Linked DNA regions of Homo sapiens: region 2 is linked to region 1. The links are contacts of gene promoters, found by promoter capture Hi-C in blood cells and fetal thymus (Javierre and others, 2016). All regions are on one chromosome and are shown on one strand. Each heading gives the region's core, a stretch centred on a gene start or on the middle of the fragment in contact. The rest is flanking DNA. Distances are from core to core; before and after follow the strand shown.

Region 1 (7,134 bases), core at 4,130-6,629:
AATGGCTCACGCTTGTAATCCTAGCACTTTGGGAGGACCAGGCGGGCGGATCACTTGAGGTCAGGAGTTCGAGACTAGCCTGGCCAACATGGTGAAACCCCATCTCTACTAAAAAATGACAAAAAATTAGCCGGGTGTGGTGGCGGGCACCTGTAATCCCAAGCTACTCAGAGGCTGAGACAGGAGAATTACTTGAACCTGGGAGGCGGAGGTTGCACAGTGAGCCAAGATCTCACCACTGCACTGCAGCCTGGGTGACAGAGCAAGACATTGTCTTGAAAAAATATATTGTTTAATTGATTTTTTTCCCCAACTTTTGAGATTTTCGACTATAGAAAAGTCATGTAACCCGTACAATCCACTCAAATACCCTTCACATAGCTTCCTCAATTCTTAGTATTTTGCCTGATTCGCTTTATCTCTTTATATCTATGTAATTTTCTTCTGAGTTTCTGTGTCTCACTTTTCCTGTCCCTATTTACTTGTCCAGGCGTTTTCAAAAGACTCAGTCTTCTCTGTTGTTGGTTGACCAATAAATAAATATTTAGCCTTTTTCTGGAGGGAGATCACAAAACAGGACAGAGCTCTTCCTGAATCCTTCAGGCGGATTCGCCCTCTCTTCCTGTTCTGCGGAGGACAGTCCTGGGGCCTTTGCTGTGTCAACCATGCCCCGAGGCACCCCAGAAGCTGCATCTGTCGAGTCTGTGCTGTAATCATGGCCTTGAAGGTGGAAGGCAGGTCTGAGATGGGAGGTGACAGGAGCAGGTCTGGGCCGGAGCAACCGCAAGCGCCCGTCTCCTTCTCTCCCTCCCTCCCTCCCTCCTTCCCTCCCTCCCTCCCTCCATCAAACCAGGCAGAGCTGGGGCCTGGGGCACCCCAGGGAGACAGACCTGCCACCTCAGCAATGGCTTCCAGGTGGGAATGGGGGTCTTTTAGTCCAGACTTTTCCAGAGATGCTGGAAACACAGCTTGTCCTGCTGTTTAAATGTTTGCAATTATTAATTTTTGCAATGCTTTGTAAAAACTAAAGGTACAATAGTTGGGTTCCACCCTGGGACCGCCAGTTTGCAATCCTTCTCTTAGGGACTGAGTCAGGCTGGGGGGGGGGGGCGGGCTGCAGGGCTCCCACTTGAACCAGAAGTCCCTGTCCCAGATGTCTAGCTCCAAATGTGTTCCCTGCCCTTTCCTGCTTCCCTGTAGTTCCTGCCCGCACCCAGGACCCCCAGCCATCTGCCCAAGCCCTCCCCACCCCCACCACGCCGCCCCCACTCCCCACATGATGGGGAAGCTGGCCAAGACATTCATTCCTCCACACCCCCTGCCCCCATCAGCAGCTCCACCCTCAGCACCCCCACCTCAGCTCCTCCTGCAAGGCCTCCGTGGATGGGGGGTGGCGGTGGAGAAAGCCTTTCTTTTATAATTGTTTTAAACCTACTTTTATTTTTATTTTTGTAGAGACAAGATCTCTCTATATTGCCCAGGCTGGTCTTGAACTCCTGGACTCAAAGGATCCTCCAGCCTCGGCCCCCCAGAGTGCTGGGATTACAGGCGTGAGCCATGGTGCCCAGCCTGGTAATTAACAGATACTTCGTGACCACCCACTATGCACCAGGCCCTGTTCTATAATTCAGATGAAAATCCCTGAGAGGAGCTGACGTGCTAGCAGGGGAGGCAGATAGCACCACAAAAAAAAAAAAAAAAAAGCAAACAGAAGTCAAAAGGTCATAGAGAGGTCAGGGGGTAGGTGCGATGGTGGTCGGGGAAAGCCACTTGAACCTCATGGCTTTGAGCTGTCCAGATGCGGGAGAAAAGAGAGCCAGGCAAGGGAATAGGCATTGCAAGGGCTCTTGGCCAGAAACATGCCTGGAGTGATCCAGGAACGGCAAGGAGGCCCAGGTGGCCGGAGCAGAGTGAGTGACAACAGGGGTTAGGGGGAACCCTGAACCTCCCCTGAGTTTCCCTAGTCTGTAAGATGGGGGTCTCCAACCGGTGGCCCCAGGGCCTTATCCAACCACTGGATATTTTTCATTCTGTCTACAAAGTGTTAAGAAAACGAAGTTACCAACATTTAAAAATCAGGGCCGGGTGCAGTGGCTTGCACCTATAATCCCTGCGCTTCGGGAAGCCAAGGTGGGAGGATCACTTGAGACCCAGAGTTCAAGACCAGGTTGGGCAACATAGCGAGACCCCCGTCTCTAAAAAAATTAAAAAATTAGCCAGGTGTGGTGACGTGCATTTGTAGTCCCAGCTACAGGGGAGGCTGAGGTGGGAGAATCACTTAAGCCCAGGAGTTGGAGGCTGCAGTGAGCCATGATTGGACCACTACACTCCAGCTTGGGCAACAGAGCAAGAACTCACCTTAAAAAAAAAAAATCCGGAAGGCCGGGCTCGGTGGCTCATGCCTGTAATCCCAGCATTTTGGGAGGCTGAGGCAGGCGGATCACTTGAGGTCAGGAGTTGGAAACCAGCCTGGCCAGCACGGTGAAACCCCGTCTGTACTAAATATACAAAAATTAGCCGGGCGTGGTGGCACACACCTGTAATCCCACCTACTCGAGAGGCTGAGGCACGAGAATTGCTTGAACCTGGAAGGCAGAGGTTGCAGTGAGCTGAGATCGTGCCACTGCACTTCAGCCTGGGCGACAAGAGCAAAATTCCATCTCAAAAAAAAAACAAAACAAAACAGGAGATTTCATCATAAAAATCTCCATTTCTAGCTTCTGTGGGTGAGTGATGACGTCAGAGCAGCACAGAGGCAGGTGTCAGGGAGCCTGTGGACTCTTGGCCACTGTGTCACCTCACATGGCTCCTGGAAGCCAGGCGGACAGTGATACGTCCACAGCCACACCATCCCCATGGTGGTGGGACAGGGTTACCTGCCAGTGCCCACTCTTCTCCCACAGGTGCTGAGACCACAGCGCTGTTCCACAAAGCCCCAGGAAGCCACATTACCCTGTCCACCGGCCTCTCTAGCCCCATCTTGCCCAGGAAGTGGGACCTTGGCGTATCGCTGTGACCACACCTCCCAGCCGGTCAGCCTGGCCGCTCAGGCTCTACCTGCAAAGGCAAGGCCCCACCCAACCAGCACCCCTCTCATGGCTGGGGGTGCCTCCAGGCTGCCCTCTCTAGGGCCAGGAGCCTGCAGAAACGCTCCCAGCCTTGAATAAAGAGCAACGAAATTATTGAAACAAAATCAATAAAAGTTTGAATCAGGGATGGTATAACATGCTCTGGCTTTGATTCTGTGCTTTAATTCAGCGTTCCTGAAAAACTTATGATGTCAGAAACTATCTGTAGGTTTGGTTTTTTTCATTTTGCAAGAATTCCCAGGATATGGAGAAATCACAGCCACTCACAGCCTTAACAGGTTCTTTGGGCCCAAATGATTCCAAAAGCAAAACGAGAGAAACTTTTTCAAATATGTTTATTATGTATATTATATACAATATATTAATAAAACATATTACCTACATGCATTTAAAACATAACTGAAGTCAGATTGGCCCAGAAGACTCACTCCAAATGAGACCTAATCCCCAATAGGGTGCAAGTGACTGCACAAACTCTACTCCTCACAGCCCTTCCTAAGACTCAGTGTGCTCATCACACTAGGGTCTCAGAGTCCTTCTGACCATAAACCCAAGCCCCAGCGCCAGCCCAACACACACTTGGACGCAGCATGTTCACGTCCAGCCTAGGAAGAATTTATGGTTGACCTGGATTGGGTAAAAACCGTAAACGTCTGTACCTCAGAATGTAAGATCATGGTGTTTAAAACTACAGAACATTCAGAGGTTGTCAGAAGTCTCTAATTGCTGGTCCCCCAGGTTGAAACCAGCCCTTAGGTTGAAATTTTGACCTGCAAATTTTTTTTTAAATCTGAACCAAATTTTTTAAATTAAACCCCTTTAAGGTAGTACATTTTCAAGATGCAAAATTCAAAAAATATAAGAGGGCACGTGATAATGAGTGAGTCTCACTTCCACCCCACCCTCCAGCCTCCCAGTTTCCCTCTCCAGAAGCCATGGGTATGGATGCCAATCTCCAAAAATATTTTATTCATTACAAGTATATACATATGCATTATTTTACCGCTCACAAATGGTAGCACACTGCACGGTTTCCCAATACCTTGTTTTTTTTCCCCTTAGCAAGCTGTCTGGGAAATACTTCTGTATCTAACCACGGGCAGGGGTGTTCCTCCAAGATTTTTAGACAACAGTTCTCCAGTTCACCCCGTTCCGGTGAAGGGCAGAGCACCCCCCGCCCTTCCCAGCCACCCTGTACACGCCCCTACTCGCTCTCGGATGCCTGCAGTTCCCAGGCTTCCCAGCAGAGGGAGACACCATTCCACTCCCAAGACCACCAAGGGGTCGTCCCAGACACAAGCTTCAAGGGTCTAGGGAAGAGACGCTATCCGCCCAGACACAAAGACCCCCCTTAGCTATACTGAGTTGGCCTCCGGGCCTCCCCTTCCTGTTTCTATCTCCTCCTGGACCTGTTGCTTAGAGCCCTACCCCGAGGTCCCCCCGCCCGGCTTCCTTATGGGAACTGGCCCCGCCTTAAGAGTGGTAGGAGGGAGCCTTACCCTTGTCTAGGACCTGGGCTTGACAACTTGCCCCAGGGAACCACATAGAGAAGGGGTGTAGCGCTGGGCGAACATTGCCCTCCCCGATCCCTCAGCGATGACAAGTGGGGGGTCCTTCTCTCTGCCCCCAGCAGGCCAGTTTCCGGAAGAGCCTTGACCCAAACCCCCTTTTCCTGTCCTGTGCTCCACACTCCCAGCAGCTGCTTCTCCCTGGCCAGGCCCTGCAGCCCTCCTCCCCGCCCCCACGGTGGTGTTGGGGTCGCCTGGAGTCCAGCTGGTGTCCAGGGCAGAGCTACCCCTTTCCTGGCCCTACCCCTCCCCGTGACCCCAATCCTCCGCCAACCGCTCAAAGGATCCTTGTTCTCCATCCAGCCCCCAGACAAAAGTCCCTCTGTCTAAGAAGGCGGAATTGAGGGGAGGGGGCACCCCCAACTGGGACCATGGGGGAGCCTGCACAGACCCCATCCGGAAGGAATGCCTGGAGGAGGAGGAGCAGGAGACAGGGGAGGAAAGGGGGAGGGAGGCTTGTACAGTGCTGGGGGCCTTATGTGGACTAGGAGGCAGCCGCCCCCACCAGCACCCACTCTGTAGACCCAGGCGTCTGGCTCCCAGCACCCACGGAAAGAGCCTGGCTAGGAAACTGCAGCCTGGTGCCTGGCAGACAGTTCTCATTCTCCCCAGGGCAGGGAGCAGGTTATGACCAGGACTAAGGTCCCAGAGTCCCCACCCTGACCCCTCCCTGCTGTTCCAGCCGCTCCCTCATATCCACCCCTGCCCCATCTCCTGACTTTGGTCACGCTAGCATCTTCTGCTGATCCTGAAATTGTACCAGCGGCAAGATGTGGCCTGGAAGGGGACTTTAAGTTCTCCACAACTGCCAGCAATCCTTCCACCAGGCAAAACACATCATCTAAGGAAAAGAAGTGAGGTCGGAACACCAACGCATCATCTCACTGCATGGCCCTGGAGGCTCTGCCGTTTAAAGACCCCAGAACCTTCCCCATTCAAGGTCCTCTCCTGGGCACAGGAGATTGGAGAAAGCTCCTCCCTTAATTCCAGGGGCCGAGTTCCAGCCCATCCAATTCTCCGTCTCACCTGAGGCTGCTGTGGTCCTGGTGACCCCAGGGAGCAACCTGCCGCCCATGGCTGGGGAGGGGGTGAAGCTGTCTCTTTAAGAGCAGGAATGGAGCCCCTGGGCCTCAGGGCATCTGACTTGTTTTCTACCTGCCCAGGTTTGCTTAGGGCGTGGCAGCTTCGGATAAACGCAGGACTCCGCCTGGCAGCCCGATTTCTCCCGGAACCTCTGCTCAGCCTGGTGAACCACACAGGTGAGCAGCTGGGGCCCCTTCCTCCAAGCCCTCCTTGTCTCTGCCCCTAAATTAGGAAGTATCTACCTGCCCCCTGACCCTGCCCCATAGAAGCTTTTATGTTAAAGCGCCTAAAATCTTGTGAAATGCTTTTCTGGAGCCAGGAGATAAACGGAAGTCCCTTCCCCTAATGTCCCTTTCCCCACCATTCTCCTCTCAGGGACTTGTTGAACCAGCTGAGGTGAGGGCAGGACTGATAAGTGTGGTTGGGGTGTCTGAAAGACTAGTGTCTGCATGGATTAGGGATATCTGGGTTGGGGATAGCTGGGTGGAGGAGAGGGGGTGCCTGGGTAGGTAGGGGTATCTAAGTGGACCAGGGGTGCGTAGATGGACTGGGGACATCTGGGTGGATGAGGAATGCTGGGTGGACTCGGGGTGTCCAGACATTGAGGGATCTGGGTGGATAAGGAGTGCTGGGTGGACTCGGGGTGTCCAGACATTGAGGGATCTGGATTCTGGAGACCTCCAGGAAAAAAGGATGGAGCTGCTGGGGGAAGCTTTAAATGGGGAGTTGCTTGGGAGATTTCAGGAGCACACAGCGGGCAGGATCTTTCTACCCACCCCTGAACATGAGACCATTCTCCCATGGTATGGAGGAATAGAGGGGATAGCAGAGGGCAGGTGGGGGAAACAGTCCTCAGGCCGGCCTTGGGACCTCATGGCCAGGAAGGATGAGAGCAGGTAGACAGAGCATCAGCTGCAGGGCTGCCTTCCTCTCTAACCTGCTCACCAACCACATCAGTTCGGGAGCAGCCCACAGCCTCTTCAGACAACAGCCTGAATGGGGAACGTGAGGGCAGACCCAGCTCCCGGCTCCCTGCAGCCTCCGGAAGCATGGGACTGGACGTTGTTTTGCAGAGGCTGGGGCGAGGAGGATACCATCTGTCAGTCTTGGCTGGATGACATCATGGGAAGGGGGTATAGTGGGGCCTTGCAGGCCAGAGGTGGCTTGGAGGAGCCCCTGGAAAGAGGCTTAAGAGGTGAGACTCAACAGCCATGGCGACAGAGCATAGGGCTTTAAGATGAATTTGCAGGGGTTACAGGATTACAACTGCAATGTGGGCTAATAATAGTGCCCCCTGCATTAAGCTGCAGAGATTGAGCGAGTAAGTGGGAAGCTGAGAAAATGCCCCCATGGGGTAGACACTCAATAAGCATCTGCTGTTATTACCAGGACTC
Region 2 (7,134 bases), core at 1,976-4,475, 220 kb after region 1:
GTGAGCGGAGATCACACCACTGCACTCTAGCCTGGGAGACAGAGCAAGACTCTGTCTCAAAAAAAAAGAAAGAACTCCGTGAGCATCCCAAATGCCACATCCCCATAATGCAACCAGACCCGGTCCTCCCGGATCCAGGGGAAGGGTCGGAGCTCAGTGGGTGAGCAAGAAAAGCCACGTGGAAGAAGTAAGCGGCCAGATGGCTCAAAGACAAACTCTCCCCTGCTCAGGCTTGCACCCAGACACGACACCATGCATCTCCTCGGCCCCTGGCTCCTGCTCCTGGGTAAGGACTGTGGCCTGGGCTAGTACTGGGGTTCTGGGATGTCAGTGGGCACTGGAGGAGGAGGAAAGACCCAGGCAGAGAGGCGTCAACATAGGGTAGGGTGGGGGCAGCGGTGTGTATAGATAAATGTACATACAAATATATATGTTTCCCATATATACATACACTTCTCTCATTGCATCCTGCTGTCTTTGTGTATCTCTGTATTTCTCCCACTATCTTCAGAGGGAATTCTTTAGTCTTTAGAAAGCTCTCTGCTGGGTGCAGTGGCTCATGCCTGAAATCTCAGCACTTTGTGAGGCTGAGGTGGGAGGATCACTTGAGGTCAGGAGTTCAAGGCCAGCTTGGACAACATAGCAAGACCCCTATCTCTAAAAAGAATAAAAAATTAAACAAATTTTAAAATAAAAAATAACTTTTAAAAGAAGGCTCTCATGCCCCCTTAGTAATGCTTTCTGATCACTGTGGTGAGTTCTAGAATACTTGGCTTTCTCTGACTCAAGTAAATGGGTTTTTGAGCACCCTGAAACCCTCTACGCCTGGGAGGGGGCCTGCGTCTGGATCCCCTGCACCTACAGAGCCCTAGATGGTGACCTGGAAAGCTTCATCCTGTTCCACAATCCTGAGTATAACAAGAACACCTCGAAGTTTGATGGGACAAGACTCTATGAAAGCACAAAGGATGGGAAGGTTCCTTCTGAGCAGAAAAGGGTGCAATTCCTGGGAGACAAGAATAAGAACTGCACACTGAGTATCCACCCGGTGCACCTCAATGACAGTGGTCAGCTGGGGCTGAGGATGGAGTCCAAGACTGAGAAATGGATGGAACGAATACACCTCAATGTCTCTGGTAAGGCCTTCGGGGAGCGGGTCCTCTGCTCTGGGCAGGGGTGAGTGGGAGGCAGGAAATACCTGACTCCTGGCACAGAGCTCACAAACCGAGCTTCCTGCAGAGCTCAGGCAGGGGACGCCAGCGGATGACGATGGCGATGCAGCAGCACTAGACAGAGCTGCGGGACCTCGGATGTCCCATCTGACCCTCAGTTCCTGCCCCTCTGGGACCTGGATTCCAAAGTTATCGGATCTCCTGATCTTTCCCTCTTTCTTTCTCACCATGTATTTTTCAGCTTTTGTGACAAACTCGTGTTTGGCCTTAGTACTGGAACCATCCAAGCACCGCATTCCTTTAGTGGGGTGGGTCTGCATGTAACCAGCCTCAGCTCTCCCCCAGGCTGGACCGCCCCCTTCAGACATTGGGGTCTGAAGCTGCATCGCTCACCCCAAACTTAGGGCTGCTCAGAGCTCCCTATAGAGGAAACTGGGTGTGGAACGGAGTAACCACACTCCCTAGGGCAGAGGCCCCAGACCTGTGTTTGATGGGTCAAATCCACCCCTACATGTGCAGTGCCATAACTGAGCCTGTGTTATAAAAATCATAAAATGTTTGTTTTACTTTTTTTCCTCTTCTTTTCCCCTTCCCCTTCCTTTCCCTTTTTATGAGACAGGGTCTCGCACTGTCATCACCCAGGCTGGAGTGCAGTGGCGCGATCTCAGCTCACTGCAGCCTTGATCTCCCGGGTTCAAGCAATCCTCCCACCTCCAAAGTAGCTAGGATCACAGGTGCATGCCACCATGCCCAGCTAACTTTTTAATTTGTTGTAGAAATGGGTCTTGCTATGTTGCCAGGCTGGTCTTGAACTCCTGGCCTCAAGCAATCCTCCTGCTTCAACCTCTCAAAGCATTAGGATTACAGGCATGAGTCACCGCACCCGGCCTGATCTTCTGATTTTTCAAGAGACGATGGAAATCTAGATTTTCCAGTGAAATCTCCCAGCATGTTAATGTTCATGGCAAGTTCTCATGAGCTCTTCAAGGTCAGATGACACTGTTGTTGAACCCCAAAGGCCAGGTTTGAGCTCCCGATGCGTAGTCAGCCAAACACTGACACCTCAGTGCTTAGAAGCTGAGATAGGATTATTTAATTTAGCCAAAGCAAGGGGACAGAAGAGAGAAACTCTCAAATCTGACCTGACTTTGAGCGTTAGTGGGGGCTTTTATGAGTAAAGTAGGTGTGCAGGAGGTGACCTCCCGATCGTCAAAGCTGTTGTGCCCCTCGGCTCATCAAATTTCTGGATGTCATCAAGGAGGTCTGTGTGACCTAAGGATCATTGTTCTTTGAAAGAGAGACAAGTTCATTTATCTTGCAGGCAGCTGCCAGGGAGTCAGGATGTAAGTTAAACAATTATGAGTGAATTAATGGTTACCTGCTACTGAAATGACCAAATGTAACTAATCATGCATGGAGGAAGGAAAGGACAAAGAGAAAAGAAAAGAAGTAAAACGAACATCTTATAATTTTTATAACATAGGTTCAGTTATAGCACTGCACATGTAGGGGTGGCTTTGACCCATCAAACACAGGTGTGGGGGGCCCCTGCCACAGGGAGTGTGGTCACTCCGTTCCACACCGTTTCCCGGATGGGCAGTTCTGAGCAGCCTTAAATTTGGGGTGAGCAATGCAACTTCAGACCCCGCTGTCTGAAGGAGGTGGTCCAGCCTTGGGGAGAGCTGAGGCTGGGTGCACACAGACCCACTCCACTAAAGGAATGCGGTGCGTGGATGGCTGCAATACTGAAGGAAGCCATGAAAGTAACACAAGTTTGTCAAAGCTGAAAAGTCCGTGAACTAAACTGATAAAATTCACTTAGAGGTGGTGGGAATAGGCCGGGCACGGTGGCTCACGCCTGTAATCCCAGAACTTTGGGAGGCCGAGGCAGGCGGATCACAAGGTCAGGAGATCGAGACCATCCTGACTAACACAGTGAAACCCTGTCTCTACTAAAAATGCAAAAAGTTAGCCAGGCGTGGTGGCAGGCGCCTGTAGTCCCAGCTACTCAGGAGGCTGAGGCAGGAGAATGGCGTGAACCCGGAAGGTGGAGCTTGCAGTGAGCTGAGATCACGCCACTACACTCCAGTCCGGGCGACAGAGCGAGACTCTGTCTCAAAAAAAAAAAAAAAAAAAAAAGAGGTGGTGAGGTGGTGGGAATAGAACTTTGCAATCATTCAGAAAGCAGACATCCGGCAATGAGCATGAAAGAAAAGTAGATCACAGTTCCCAAGGAGGCTTAGTGTGGTCAAGGCCTTTCAGAGGGGATTTCGGGTGAGCAAAAGTGATTCAAAGTGGAGAAAAGCAGGACTGCGTTGGGTGCAGTGGTTCCCGCCTGTAACCCCAGCACTTTGGGAGGCTGAGATCGGAGGATCGTTTGAGCCCAGGAGTTTGAGACCAGCCTGGGTAACATGGCAAGACCCTGTCTCTACAAAATGTTTAAAAAACTAGCTAGGTGTGGTGGCACATGCCTGTAGTCCCAGTTACTCAGGGGGCTGAGGTGAGAGGATTGCTTGAGCCTAGGAGGTTGAGGCTACAGTGAGCTAGGATTGCGCCACTGCACTCCAGCCTGGGTGACAAAGCAAGACCCTGTCTCTAAAGAAAAAAAGAGGCCGGGTGTGGTGGCTTACACCTGTAATCCCAGCACTTTGGGAGGCCAAGGCGGGAGGATCACTTGAGGTCAGGAGTTCAAGACCAGCCTGGCCAACATGGCGAAACCCTGTCTCTACTAGAAATACAGAAAAATTAGCTGGGTGTGGTGGTGGGCACCTGTAATCCCAGCTACTCGGGAGGCTGAGGCAGGAGGATCACTTGAACTGGGGAGGTAGAGGTTACAGCGAGCCAAGATCGCGCCACTGCACTCCAGCCTGGGTGACAGAGGGAAACTCCATCTCAAAAAAACAACAACACAACAACAACAACAATAACAACAAAAAAACAAAGCAGGACTGGAGAGAGGTGGAATGAAGTGGCAAGGGGTTCCTGAGGGGTGATTTGGGACAGGACATCTAAAGCCAGGTGTACGCTCACGTCCTCAGTCCCCCAGGCTCCTGCACGGGCTCTGTTCTTTTGCAGAAAGGCCTTTTCCACCTCATATCCAGCTCCCTCCAGAAATTCAAGAGTCCCAGGAAGTCACTCTGACCTGCTTGCTGAATTTCTCCTGCTATGGGTATCCGATCCAATTGCAGTGGCTCCTAGAGGGGGTTCCAATGAGGCAGGCTGCTGTCACCTCGACCTCCTTGACCATCAAGTCTGTCTTCACCCGGAGCGAGCTCAAGTTCTCCCCACAGTGGAGTCACCATGGGAAGATTGTGACCTGCCAGCTTCAGGATGCAGATGGGAAGTTCCTCTCCAATGACACGGTGCAGCTGAACGTGAAGCGTGAGTCTCCCCGGCATGCCTGTGGGAAGGGCAAGGTCTGTGTCACCTTCTCCCCAGCCCCGCAGGGGGCATGCACCCAGGGCAGGGGGAAGCCTGCACAGACGGCGGCATCCTCCAGCCCTGGTCACGCCGCCTTGTCAGCCCTGGTGTTTCGGGAAAAAGATTTGCTCTAGCCTAACAGAATAAAATGGTCCATCCTCAAGCCATGACATGAATTGGGGATTATCTGGTTAGGTCTTTTTGTTCCCCTCTTGGTGGGGATTTTTTTCGCATCATTATCTTGTGCCTCATTCATTCAATAAATACGTATCATGAACCTACTAGGTACCAGGCCTTATTACGGCTGCCAATGGGGGGCATGGGGCGGTGGGCAGGGTGCAGCAGTGAGCAAAACTCTTGCCCCACGCGGAGCCAGCGCTGCAGTGAAAGAGACAGACAACAAATGGATTACCAAAGAAATACAGAGCATGAGCCAAGACATTAGAATCTGGAACAAAGCAATGTTAACAAAGAAATATACAACACTATTGTAGGTAGTGATATGTGTGTTAGGAAAAAAATAAGGCCGAGAGAGGGGAGTGATGGAGAGAGACCTCTCTAAGAAGGTGAGCACTTAGGCCGGGTGCGGTGGCTCACGCCTGTAATCCTAGCACTTTGGAAGGCCGAGGCGGGGGGATCACAAGGTCAGGAGATCGAGACCATCCTGGCTAACATGGTGAAACCCCATCTCTAGTAAAAATACAAAAAATTAGCCAGGCATGATGGCAGGCGCCTGTAGTCCCAGCTACTTGGGAGGCCAAGGCAGGAGAATGACATGAACCCAGGAGGCGGAGCTTGCAGTGAGCTGAGATCGCACCACTGCACTCCAACCTGGGTGACGAGTGAGACTCCATCTCAAAAAAAGAAAAAAAAAGAAGGTGAGCACTTAAGCTGACTGGAACGGAGGGAGTGGCTGAGGCCGGCACATATTTGGGAGAGGAGGATTTCAGGGAAAGAGAAGGGCAGGTTCAAAGCTTTGAGGCAGCAGCTGGGTGGGAGGACCTCAGAGGCTGAAGTTCACCGCCTCTGAGGGCCACATGGTAGGACAGGAGGCAGGAGATGGAGCAGGACTCTGGATCCCGAGGGCTGAGGTGAGGGTTTGGGATTCTATGCAAAGCACAGAACCCGCTCGTGGTTTCCAGCAGGATTGGCGAGGTCTGGTAGATGGTGTTAGGAACCCTGCGTGCTGCTGGTGGAGACCAAGAAGTAGAGGAAGTGGGAGGGGGAAGCTGAGAGCCGAGTTAGGAGGCTGTGACCATCACCTGGGTGAAGGGACTGGCAGGCCATGGCTTTGTCAGAATAAAAGCACTTTCCACACCCTCCACCCTCTGAGGATTCCCCGCCCCCTCCCCGACTGCCCCTCTGCTCCTCCAGACACCCCGAAGTTGGAGATCAAGGTCACTCCCAGTGATGCCATAGTGAGGGAGGGGGACTCTGTGACCATGACCTGCGAGGTCAGCAGCAGCAACCCGGAGTACACGACGGTATCCTGGCTCAAGGATGGGACCTCGCTGAAGAAGCAGAATACATTCACGCTAAACCTGCGCGAAGTGACCAAGGACCAGAGTGGGAAGTACTGCTGTCAGGTCTCCAATGACGTGGGCCCGGGAAGGTCGGAAGAAGTGTTCCTGCAAGTGCAGTGTGAGCCCCTCGGAGCTGGGGACAGGCCAGGCAGGGAGGTAGCAGGGGTGGACCCGGAGAGGGGAGCCACGGGGGCTCTCGGGGCCGTGTGCACAGGTTGGGGGTGCTCTCCTCACCCCTCCACTCGCCTCTGCCCCCTCTTCCAGATGCCCCGGAACCTTCCACGGTTCAGATCCTCCACTCACCGGCTGTGGAGGGAAGTCAAGTCGAGTTTCTTTGCATGTCACTGGCCAATCCTCTTCCAACAAATTACACGTGGTACCACAATGGGAAAGAAATGCAGGGAAGGACAGAGGAGAAAGTCCACATCCCAAAGATCCTCCCCTGGCACGCTGGGACTTATTCCTGTGTGGCAGAAAACATTCTTGGTACTGGACAGAGGGGCCCGGGAGCTGAGCTGGATGTCCAGTGTGAGTAGCCACGGAGCCTCTGGTTCTAGGGAGAGAAGATGGACACAGGGAACGGGGAAGGCAGATGGGGTGCAGGGCATTCCGGGGTCCTGGAGTCAAGAGCAAGGAGCAGCCAGGGTCTCCTGTTCACAACTGCTGTCTCAGCTCCTAGCATAGGGCCTGGCTCATGGAGGGTGCTTGGTAGATGCTTGTTTTTTTGTGTTTTAGTTTTTTTTGAGATGGAGTCTCCCTCTGTCTCCCAGGCTGGAGTGCAGTGGCACAATCTCGGCTCACTGCAAGCTCCACCTTCCCGGGTTCATGCCATTCTCCTGTCTCAGCCTCCTGAGTAGCTGGGATGACAGGCGCCCGCCACCACGCCCGGCTAATTATTTGTACTTTTAGTAGAGACGGGGTTTCACCGTGTTAGCCAGGATGGTCTCGATCTCCTGACCTCGTGATCCACCCGCCTCGGCCTCCCAAAGTGCTGGGATTAGAGGCGTGAGCCACCGCAC

What was found. Contacts are between HindIII fragments. The CHiCAGO score rates a contact against its expected background, and 5 or more counts as called.
Region 2: a fragment that was not itself captured here is called in contact with the fragment with the promoter of FXYD3 in region 1 in 7 of 17 cell types (total B cells, naive CD8 T cells, naive B cells and 4 more); the score reaches 9.6 in total B cells.

Annotation. Positions count from the first base shown.
Region 1 is chr19:35,110,444-35,117,577 of GRCh38, forward strand. FXYD3 (FXYD domain containing ion transport regulator 3) reads left to right here and starts at 5,380. Exons shown (of 9, transcript NM_005971.4): 1 at 5,380-5,516; 2 at 5,821-5,916. It overlaps LOC124904701 (hepatitis A virus cellular receptor 1-like), which reads left to right. Exons shown (of 3, transcript XR_007067238.1): 3 at 2,904-3,226. The HindIII fragment of the contact is 1,620 bases long and covers 4,388-6,007 here.
Region 2 is chr19:35,331,789-35,338,922 of GRCh38, forward strand. It overlaps CD22 (CD22 molecule), which reads left to right. Exons shown (of 14, transcript NM_001771.4): 2 at 231-286; 3 at 759-1,136; 4 at 4,248-4,553; 5 at 5,967-6,233; 6 at 6,380-6,643. The coding sequence starts at 253. Among named protein-coding and RNA genes, the nearest start is that of CD22, 6.2 kb to the left of the region's middle. RefSeq lists a silencer at 1,517-1,726 and enhancers at 5,525-5,674, 5,715-5,814. The HindIII fragment of the contact is 4,678 bases long and covers 887-5,564 here.